Linked DNA regions of Homo sapiens: all the other regions are linked to region 1. Evidence: promoter capture Hi-C in 16 types of primary human blood cells and fetal thymus (Javierre and others, 2016). All regions are on one chromosome and are shown on one strand. Each heading gives the region's core, a stretch centred on a gene start or on the middle of the fragment in contact. The rest is flanking DNA. Distances are from core to core; before and after follow the strand shown.

The links. Contacts are between HindIII fragments. The CHiCAGO score rates a contact against its expected background, and 5 or more counts as called.
Region 2: a fragment that was not itself captured here is called in contact with the fragment with the promoter of RADIL in region 1 in 2 of 17 cell types (M2 macrophages and endothelial precursors); the score reaches 6.2 in M2 macrophages.
Region 3: a fragment that was not itself captured here is called in contact with the fragment with the promoter of RADIL in region 1 in 1 of 17 cell types (M2 macrophages); the score reaches 5.5 in M2 macrophages.
Region 4: a contact is called between a fragment that was not itself captured here and the fragment with the promoter of RADIL in region 1, in 7 of 17 cell types (megakaryocytes, erythroblasts, endothelial precursors and 4 more). The highest score is 18.5, in megakaryocytes.

Annotation. Positions count from the first base shown.
Region 1 is chr7:4,882,273-4,884,972 of GRCh38, forward strand. RADIL (Rap associating with DIL domain) reads right to left here and starts at 1,444. Exons shown (of 15, transcript NM_018059.5): 1 at 1,324-1,444. RefSeq lists enhancers at 146-440, 170-858, 859-1,546 and a silencer at 1,256-1,475. The HindIII fragment of the contact is 2,924 bases long and covers 1-2,565 here.
Region 2 is chr7:5,101,274-5,103,978 of GRCh38, forward strand. No RefSeq gene overlaps it. Among named protein-coding and RNA genes, the nearest start is that of RBAKDN, 31 kb to the left of the region's middle. The HindIII fragment of the contact is 4,338 bases long and covers 1-2,705 here.
Region 3 is chr7:5,131,970-5,134,669 of GRCh38, forward strand. It overlaps the pseudogene ZNF890P. Among named protein-coding and RNA genes, the nearest start is that of WIPI2, 57 kb to the right of the region's middle. The HindIII fragment of the contact is 6,666 bases long and covers 1-2,700 here.
Region 4 is chr7:5,085,085-5,087,846 of GRCh38, forward strand. No RefSeq gene overlaps it. Among named protein-coding and RNA genes, the nearest start is that of RBAKDN, 14 kb to the left of the region's middle. The HindIII fragment of the contact is 5,458 bases long and covers 1-2,762 here.

The DNA.
Region 1 (2,700 bases), core at 194-2,693:
CAAGGGGAGTGCAGGAAAATCCGACCGGGCGGAGCACGCCCTGGGTAACAAGATCTGTTTTTCTGGAAGTGCGACCGGCCTCTTCTGCCCCATTCGCTCCTCTGTGACACAAATACTTGGGGAAAGCGCAGGGCTCGGACAGCGAGGGTGTGGGGCGCTGGCTGGTGCTGCTCTTAGAGAATGTTTTCTCTTGTTCTCAAGGAAGGGTCCAGTTTCTGATGAAAAACAAGCTCAAGTCCCAGCGGCGAGTACAGGGAGTGAGGTCAGTGCTGCGCTGACGACATGGGTGGAGCGACCTCTCTGCTCCAACAGGACAATGTGGAACCCATTATCATTTCCAGCAGGAGGGAAAACGAAGCGCAGACTTTACACACTCAGCTCTCTCCCCTCCTTCCATGAATCCTATCTTTACAGCCCCAGCCCGAGCCACGCTTTCAAATGCAAACATAATTCAATCAGATTTAATTCTGACCTGCTAGCTGCTGGAGAGGAGACCGACTTGCCCCCCAGCAAAAGGGACTTTCAAGACTGGTTCCTGTCTGGAATGCACAAGAGGTGGCCTATATTAACCGCGGGACACGAGCAATCAGATTCTTCTGTGCAATTCAGATTAGCCAAACACTTGACAGGCGACAGGGCAGGGCAGGATGGTCCGCAGCCCCGCCAGGGCCCTGCCAACCCCACCAACAGGCTCCTCCTGCGAGGCCCCAGGAGCTCGGCTCAGCATCTGTTATCTTGGATGCAGTATTTGTCGAGGGGCTGGAAATGGTACATAAATAGCCGGGAAACAATGCTTTGAGCTGGCGCACGAGTGGGGATCGGGCTGCAACCGGGACGGGGTATGTGCAGGGGACGTCTCGCCGGCCCAGGTGGGAGAGCGCGCGGAACCCTGCGCCCCGCTCCCCCGCTGCGCCCCGCTCCCCCGCTGCGCGCCCCGGACGAAGCTCCCCCTCCAGGGCACAGCCGGGAAAACTGAGGGCCGAGAGTCCCCTGGAGTTGGGGGTCCGGGGCCCACGCGGACAGCCAGGCTCAGGAGCTCTCGGGGGTCGGCAGCGCGGACCCCCGGATCCCCGCAGGCTGGGCCGCCCTTGCCCGCGCTAGCCGGCCTCCGGGTACCGCCCCCCGGTCCAGGCCGGGGCCCGACAGCCAGTCGGTTCCCATGGCAACTGGGCAAACCTGCCCTCCGCGCCCCGACCAGCGGCCGGGAGTGTCCCCGAGCGCGCCCCGCGGCCTCCGCGCCCCAGGTCCCCGGCAGCGGCCGAGCAGCGCCCCTTACGAGCCACCCCCGGTTCCGCAGTCACTCCTCGCGCACCCCACACTCACCTCCGGCACAACCCGCCGCGCCGCCACGTTCCCGCGCTGCTCCCACCCGCCGTTGGCTGGGGCCGGCGCCCAGACCCGCGCGTGCCGCGGCGCCTCCTGCCGGCGGCGCAACGGGCGGGGCGGGGCCTCAAGGGGACGGGGCCACAAAGGGTGGGGCGGGGGAGAACAGGTGGGCTGGAGCTGGGCCTCGGCGCCCAATAGGCAGAAAGAAAGCCTCGAGGAGGCGGGGTCTCCAGGAGAGGGGCGGGGCCAACCTGCTAGAAAAGGCGGGCTGTGCTCTGGCGCCTCCTGCCGGCCGCCCAATGGACGGGGATGCAGCCTCGAGGGGGCGGGGCCTCACCGGAGAGGCGGGGTTTTGAAGAAAGGGGTGGGGCTGGTTGTGGAGAGGCGGGACTTGCAGCCCACCCACAGACTGCAGCTTAAGGAGGGGGGGTCCCCGGAGGAAGGGTGGGACCAGTTCTAAGTCCCTGAGCTGCTTGTGGGCTCTGGGCTCCTGCGGTTGGGTGGGCTATTTCGAGACAGCACCTTCTAGTAGCCCAGTGAGTGGGTGTAGGGGAGGGTAGAGCTGTGCCCCCAATTAATAAACATCTTCTAAGACATCGAAAAGGAACAAGGGAGGAATTTCCTCTCCCCTACCATCTGTCTCCCACCCAGAGTTTTAAAAGACAAATCAGGTCATGGCATTCCTGCTTACAATTATGCAAAAAAATGACCAGGTCAGCTCTGGGGCTCTGGCCCCAACTGCTCTCCCTGGGGACTTGTTTAAAAAGCAGCTCGTGACCTCGGCACTTTGGCTGGGGTTTTCCCTTTGAGGAATGTGGGCTAGACCTGGGAGATTCAGGTGGTTCGGAATATCAATATGCAGAATGTGGGCCTCGGGAGTGAACCTTTTTGTGGACAGCTATCGTGGTATGATTTCCGTAGTCATGACCCCATATTCGCGATGGAGGTCGGAGCAGACATTGATGAGTGTGGGAACAGACATTTATTGACCACCTGTGTGCCAGGCCCTAGGCAACTTTACCTAGGTCACCTCACTTAATGCTCACATCAATTCTTGTGAGACAGAGATGTCTGAGACATTCCAGGCCTCCCCTTTCCTCCACCTATCACCTGCTAATCCTAAAGTCCACCTCCTAAACCTTTTCTAATAAAAAATAGTGCCTCAAAGTCAACACAGAGAGACAGATTTGAGCCAGGCTCCTGTCTCCTTATTGATCAACTCACAATACGGACAAAAAAAGCTTTTGTCTCAAAAACTTAATGCAGTAAGATTGGCTTTTTTTTTTTTTTTTTTTTTTTTTTTTTTTGGAGACAGAGTCTTATTCTATTGCCCTAGCTGGAGTGCAGTGGTGTGATCTCAGCTCACTGCAACCA
Region 2 (2,705 bases), core at 94-2,593, 220 kb after region 1:
TTCTTCTTTGATGAGATTTTTTTTTTGAGATGGAGTTTTGCTCTTTTTGCCCAGGCTGGAGTGCATTGGCACGATCTTGGCTCACTGCAACCTCCACCTCCCAGGTTCAAGTGATTCTCCTGCCTCAGCCTCCCGAGTAGCTCGGATTACAGGCACGTGCCACCACGCCTAGCTAATACTGTATTTTTAGTAAAGACAGGGTTTTACCACATTGGTGAGGCTGGTCTCAAGCTACTGACCTCAGGTGATCTGCCCACTTCGGCCTCCTAAAGTGCTGGGATTACAGGTGTCAGCCACCAGACCCGGCTGAATTTTTTTTTTTTTTTTTTTTTTTTTTTAGACAGAGTCTCCCACTGTCGCCCGGACTGGAGTGCAGGGGCGCGATCTCGGCTCACTGCAACCTCCACCTCCTGGATTCAAGCGATTCTCCTCCCTCAGGCTCCCGAGTAGGTGGGATTACAGGCACTTACTACCATGCCCAGCTAATTGTTTGTATTTTTAGTAGAGAGAGGGTTTTACCACATTGGCCAGGCTGGTCTCGAACTCCTAACCTTGTGATTCACCTACCTCAGCCTCCCAAAGTGCTGGGATTATGGGTGTGAGCCACTGCACCTAGCCCAACTTTTTTTTTTTTAGACGAAGTCTTGCTGTGTCACCCAGGCTGGAGTATAGTGGTGTGATCCTGCCTCACTGCAGTTGCGAACTCCTGGGCTCAAGTGATCCTTCTGCTTCAGCATCCTAAGTAGCTGAGACCACAGGTGCACACCATCATGTCTGGTTAATTGTTTAATTTTTTTCCCCGCAGGAACAGGGTCTTGCTTTGTTGCCTAGGCTGGTCTCAAAACCCTGGCCTCAAGGTTTACTACATGCATACAATGTGTATTGATCAAATCAGGGTAATTAGGATATCCATCACCTCAACTATTTGTCATTTCTTTGTGTTGGAAACATTTTAAATATTTTCTTCTAGCGATTTTGAAATATACAATAAATTATTGCTAACTATAGTCACCCAACTGTGCTATGAAACACAAGAACTTATTCCTTCTATCTAACTGTATTTGTGTACTTATTAACCAATTTCTCATCACTCCCTCCTTCATTCTGTTTCCCACTGGAGTGCAGTAGTATGATCATGGCTCACTGTAGCCTCTCTTTCTCCTCTAACTAAATGATTTCAAATGACTTATCTTCATCTTCATGTTCATTGATTTTTTGTTTTGTTTTGTTTTGAGACAGGATCTCACTTTGTCACCCAGGGTAGAGTGCAGTGGTGTAATCATGGGTCACTGCAGCCTTGACTTCCTGGGTTCACGTGATCTTCCCACCTCAGCCTCCTGGGTAGCTGGGACTACAGGTGTACACCACCATACCCTGATAATTTAAAAAAAAATTTTTTTTTTAAATAGGGTTTTGCCGTGTTGCTTATGCTGGTCTTGAACTCCTAGCCTCAAGCAATCTGCCTGCTTCAGCTTCCCAAAGTTCTAAGATTACAAGCATAAGCCACTGCTGTTGAAGCTCTAAATGGCATTTTTTCATTTTAGTCCTTGTTCACCTCAGCTCTAGAATTTCTTTTTTTGTGATTTCTGTATCTCTGTTGAACTTTACATTTTGTTCATATATTGTTTATCTGATTTTGACGAGTTGTATCTGTGTTCTCTTGTAACATGCTGAGCTTCTTTAAAACAGTTATTTTGAATTCTTTTTCAGTTAATTCATAGATCTCCTTTTCTTTGGGGTTGGTCATTTGAAATGTGTTGTGTTCCTTTGGTGATGTCATGTTTCTTTTCTATGCAGTTATTCTTGGCTTTTCTGCTCTACTCGGTGGCTGCATCTTTTTAACTGGACTCTGGGAGTTCTCCCAGAGCTATTTTAGTCTGTGGATAGTTGTTAAATCATTGTTTTTGTGGGAGTACAAGGGCTAGGACCTCCTAGTCCACCATCTTGATCACATTACACCAAGAATCAGTCCACTCTGAGATCATCCGTCTTCTGGCCACCCTTTGGTTTACATTTTAAGAAAATGTGGACAGAGCTGTAACTTTCCTCTCCTCTCTCCAGAGAGCTGCCTACCTCTCTGGAGATAGGTATTTTGGCTATTCATTTCCTAGGTTCAAGTTTATCCCAAGACTTGTACAGTCTCTTCATCACTGCAGGGAGGTGGCCTCTTATCCCCTTAGCCCAGAAGTTTCAGATTCCCCCAGGATTCGGCAGTTTTGAATTCCCAACTCTTCCACTCCCTCTCATCCCTCCAGCCCTCATCCTTCAGAGACCATCCTGTCACTTAGGCACCACAGTGTTGGGGGAGAAGATCAGTAATGAGGCCCTGGGGCTTTGGATCAAGCCAGACCCTTAAGTGGGCCCTGGGAAACCTATTAAGTAACTATTTTCTTATTAAGAGTATAAGTATTCCCTTCTTACTGGGAATAGAAGTTGAAAGATTGACAGAGATAAGGGAGAAAGGTGTGGTAGAGTCCGTCTCCTCCCATTTCCTACAAAATCCTTCTACAGTTGACTCCGCTCTTACTTTTGTTTACAGAGGAGCTGACGTTTCATCTGGGCCTGAAGAATGAGTAAATTTCCAGGTGGGAAAAGGTCATTGTGATATTGGAGAGGTATGTATAAGAATGGGGAAAATGGTCCAGTATGGTGGCTCATGCCTGTAATCCCAGCACTTTGGGAGGCCAAGTTAGGTGGATCACCTG
Region 3 (2,700 bases), core at 20-2,519, 250 kb after region 1:
AGCCTCTACAGTCTCTCCACCCTGCCCTTCCCACAACCTTGATCTTCCATTCTCTTCCTGTTTTCACCGATCCTGATTTCCGTTTGTATTTTGTTTTATCGGATACCCTTTTTTTTTTTTTTTTAAGACAGAGTCTCACTCTGTCACCCAGGCTGCAGTGCAATGGCACGATCTCAGCTCACTGCAACCTCTACCTCCTGGGTTCAAGTGATTCCCCTGCCTCAGCCTCCTGAGTAGCTGGGATTACAGGCTCGTGCCACCACACCTGTCTAATTTTGTATTTTTAGTAGAGACAGGGTTTCACCATGTTGGCCAGGCTGGTCTTGAACTCCTGACCTCAGGTGATCCGCCTACTTTGGCCTCCCACAGTGCTGGGATTACCAGCGTGAGCCACCACGCCCAGCCTTTATCAGTCATGTTCTTATGAGCATCCGAAATCCCTGCTAAAAAGGGCAGTAGAAAGAAATGCCACACTCACCTGGGCCATAGTTCTTCTTCTCTATTCTGGAAAAGCAGACACCTGTGAAGGCAGACATCAGGGTGGGGAGAGAGGATATGAGAGGCCACGCTTGCCCTTGGGCTCCCAATCAACTGCTGGGACCACCCCCGCCCTCTCCCAGGCGCAGGTGGGAGAAAACCTCCTCTGAAGGGTCCCCATTATCAAAGCAAAGCCCTCACCTTACAAATGTCATAGAGACTCAATCTTGTGAGGCCTTACTTGGATTTTTGTTTTGTTTTTTGAAATGGGGTTTCACTCTGTCGCCCAGGCTGGAACACAGTGATGCAATCACGACTCAATGCAGCCCTGGACTCCCAGGTTCCAGCGATCCTCCCACCCCAGCCTCCAGAGAAGCTGGGACTATAGGTGTGTCACATGCCCAGCTAATATATATATATATATATATATATTTTTTTTTTTTTTTTTTTGAGACAAGAGTCTTGCTCTTTCGCCCAGGCCGGACTGCAGTGACGCTATCTCGGCTCACTGCAAGCTCCGCCTCCCGGGTTCACGCCATTCTCCTGCCTCAGCCTCCCGAGTAGCTGGTACTACAAGCGTGCACCACCATGCTTGAATAATTTTTTGTATTTTTAGTAGAGACGGGGTTTCACCGTGTTAGCCAGGATGGTCTCGATCTCCTGACCTCGTGATCTGCCCTCCTCGGCCTCCCAAAGTGCTGGGATTACAAGCGTAAGTCACTGCGCCCAGCCATGCCCAGCTAATTTTTAAATTTTTTGGTAGAGACAGGGTCTCACTGTATTGCCCAGGCTGGTCTCAAACTCCTGGGTTCAAGCAATCTGCCTGCCTCAGCCTCCCAAAACCTTGGGATTACAGGGGTGAACCACCACGACTGACTGAAGTTTTTCTTAATGAGTATGTGCATCTGTGTCTCAGTAACCAATGTGCAATTTACTACAATCCCCACCCATTACCCAAAAATGTAATTACTAGAAATTTATTCTGAAGAAACAGGCCGGACACAGAGGCTCACGCCTGTAATCACCACACTTTGGGAGGCCGAGGCAGGTGCATCACCTGAGGTCAGGAGTTCAAGATCAGCTTGGCCAATATGGTGAAACCCCATCTCTACTAAAAATACAAATATCAGCCGGGTGTGGTGGCATGTGCCTGTAATCCCAGCTACTCAAGAGGCTGAGGCAGGAGAATCTCTTGAACTTGGGAGGCAGAGGTTGCAGGGAGCCAAGATTGCACCATACCACTGCACTCCAGCCTGGGCGACACAGCAAGACTCCATCCCCCTCAAAAAATTATAAGAAAACTTTTTTGAGGGGATAGGGTCTTGCTGTTGCCCAGACTGGAGTGCAGTGGCGTAATCTCGGCTTCCTGCGACCTGTGCCTCCTGGGTTCAAGTGATTCTCATGCCTCAGCCTCCCACATATCTGGGATTACAGGCACACACCAGCAAGCCTGGCTAATTTTTTGTATTTTTACTAGAGATGGGGTTTCACCATGTTGGCCAGGCTGGTCTCCAACTCCTGACCTCAGGTGATCCACCCACCTCAGCCTCCCAAAGTGCTGGGATTACAGGCGTAAGCCACCATGCCCGGCCTATTTTTATTTTTTGTAGAGGCCAGGCGCGGTGTTTCACCCCTGTAATCCCAGCTACTTGGGAGGCTGAGGCAGGAGAATCGCTTGAGCCTCTGAGGTGGAGGTGGCAGTGAGCTGTGATCGTACTACTGTTCTCCAGCCTGGGCAACAGAGTGAGACTCCGTCTAAAAAACCAAAACATATATATATGCTTTTTGTAGAGTCAGGGTCCCGCTATGTTGCTCAGGCTGGTCTCGAACTCCTGGCCTCAAGTGATCCTCCCGCCTTGGCCTCCCAAAGTGCTGGGATTACAAGCATGCATCACTGTGCCTGGCCTGTTTCTTGTTTGTATACATCAACTACAAACTACAGCACATGTAATAAGTTTGTAAACATACATCTATAAACAAAAAATTCTGGGCCAGGCACAGTGGCTCAAGCCTGTAATCCCAGCACTTTGGGAGGCGGAGGCGGGTGGATCACTTGAGGTCAGGAGTTCGAGACCAGCCTGACCAACATGGTGAAACCCCATCTCTACTAAAAATACAAAATTAGCCGGGCATGGTGGCGGGCGCCAGTAATCCCAGCTACTTGGGAGGCCGAGGCAGGAGAATCACTTGAACCAGGGAGGCGGAAGTTGCAGTGAGCCAAGA
Region 4 (2,762 bases), core at 170-2,669, 200 kb after region 1:
AAGCAATTCTCCTGCCTCAGCATCCTGAGTAGCTGGGACTACAGGCGCCCGCCACCATGCCCGGCTAATTTTTGTATTTTTAGTAGAGATGGAGTTTCACCATGTTGGCCAAGATGGTCTCCATCTCCTGACTTCGTGATCTGACTGCCTGGGGCTCCCAAAGTGCTAGGATGACAGGGGTGAGCTAACCCGACGTCTTTAAAAAAAAAAAAAAAAGTGTAAATGAAGAGTGGTAAGACATGAGACCCCCTCTACACTGGGCTGGGTGGTCGCTCGCCCCAGTCTGCAGAGGGAAAGAAAAGGTCTGAACTTGGAGGTGTGAAAATGGAACCTCTCTAGAAAGCTGCACCCTGGCCAGCGACACCACAGCTGTGTCTCCTGGAGCTGGGAGCATCCCCACTCACACCTCAGGGAGGGAGTGGAGTATTCCCAGGTGCAGATATGGCCCGGTGCAGATACGAACCCAACCAAGTTAAAGCCCTCTTGAGGGTCCTGCCGCTGTCCCCATGACAAGTGCGAGGCAGCCCTGCCCCCTGGTGGCAGCACTCAGAACTGCATCAGCAGGTGGGCTGCCCTAGGACCGGGGGACATCGCAGGCAACATAAATGCCCTTGTGGGTTACAATCTAATAAGGAAGATGTTCAATCATCTTATTAAAATAATCGGCCGGGCGCGGTGGCTCACGCCTGTAATCCCAGCACTTTGGGCGGCCCAGGCGGGCAGATCACGAGGTCAGGAGATCGAGACCATCCTGGCTAACACGGTGAAACCCTGTCTCTACTAAAAATACAAAAATTAGCCGGGCGTGTGGCGGGCACCTGTAGTCCCAGCTACTCCGGAGGTTGAGGCAGGAGAATCGCTTGAACCCGGGAGGCAGAGCTTGCAGTGAGCCGAGATTGCGCCACTGCACTGCAGCCTGGGCGACAGAGTGAGACTCCGTCTCAAAAAAAGAAAAAAAAATTTAGCCTGGCGTGCTGGCCTATAATCCCAGCAACTTGGGAGGCAGAGGAAGGAGAATTGCTTGAACCCGGGAGGCGGAGGTTGCAGTGAGCCGAGATTGCACCACTGCACTCCAGCCTGGGCAACAGAGGCAGACTCTGTCTCAAAAAGAAAAAAAAAATTACTGCTGTGAAGGGAACAAGGGGCTGAAGTAATTACAGGGGGGCCAGGGACAAGGTGGCATTTATGAGAGGTTGGGGATGAGATTTTGAAGATGGTCTCTGGGTTCCAGGCCGAGCTCACTCTGGTGCTCCTCTGGGCGGTGGAGCGGGGCTCTTCGCTGGGCTGCTTATTCCAGGCTCTGAGCTCTGGGCGGTGGGCTCAGGCTCTCCCAGGGATGTCGGTGTCTGTGCGGTTGCCACTGCCCAGTGGCCTGGGTTCTGCTTCTCCTCTGGACTCAGGTTCTCTCTGGGGCTGACAAGATCCAGGTGGGCAGAGAATGAGGTGAAGGCTTGAAGACCAAATCATGGGAGATGCCGGGAATGGGTGGTGCTGTCCACTCTGACCGCAATTTCCCATCAATATCCAGACCTGTGCCTGCAACATCAAGACCTGTGCCTGTTCCTAAAGAGTGCGGGTACCTGAAGCCCCCCACAAGGGCTCCCCCTCTACAAGACCTGCCCCCAGGATCTTAGGGCCTGGGAAAAGCAGGAGCTAAGATGAGGGTTTTGGGGGAGAGGAGGGGACCCCTTCATTGACTCCATGGACCAGCCTCAAAACAGAGATGGAGGCAGAGATGTTCAGAGATAGTACCAGTGTCAAGGAAACTCCTGTGTCGCCCCTAGGTCAGGCTGCCCTGGAGAGAAGTCCAGAGCCCCTGGAGGGGATAGACTGAGCTAGAGAGATAAGGGGGTGGCTGGTGCTCCCCTACTTCATCAGATAGGACTGTGAAGCCTGGGAGCAGGCTGGGAGTCCGAGGATATGGGAGAACATTCACAGCTGAGAAGTAAAGGAGAGGGTGGGCGCGGCAGCTCATGCCTGTAATCCCAGCACTTTGGGAGGCCGAGGTGGGCAGATGACTTGAGCTCAGAGGTTCAAGGCCAGCCTGGGCAACATGGCGAAACCCCGTCTCTACCAAAAATTACAAAAACTAGCTGGGCATGGTGGTACGTGCCTGTAGTCCTAGCTATTTGGGAGGCTGAGGTGGGAGGATCGCTTGAGCCCAGGAAGCAGAGGTTGCAGTGAGCTGAGATCACACTACTGCATTCCAGCCTGGGTGACCGAGCGAGACCCTGTCTTAAAAAGAAGAAGTAAAAGACTGATTCATCCCCTCCTGGACACATAGCCCCTCTAGAGCTGTCTTTGACAGTCTCGGCTGCCATAACAAAGTCCCATAGACTGGCTGCCTTATCAACAATAGATATCTATTTCTCACAACTCTGGAGACTGAAGATCTGAGATCAGGGTACATGGTCAGCTTCTGGTGAGGGTCCTCTTCTGGGTTCCAGATCACAGACTTCTAGTTGTGTCTTCATGTGGTGGAAAAAGAGGGAGCTCTCTGGGGTCCCATTGATTGATCGATTGATTGATGGAGATGGAGTTTCACTCTTGTCACCCAGGCTGGAGTGCAGTGGCATGATCTCGGCTCACTGCAGCCTCCACCTCCCCGGTTCAAGCCATTCTCCTGCCTCAGCCTCCCAAGTAGCTGGGATTACAGGCATCTGCCACCATGCCCAGCTAATTTTTTGTATTTTTAGTAGAGACGGGGTTTCACCATGTTGGGCAGGCTGGTCTTGAACTTCTGACCTCATGATCCTCCAGCC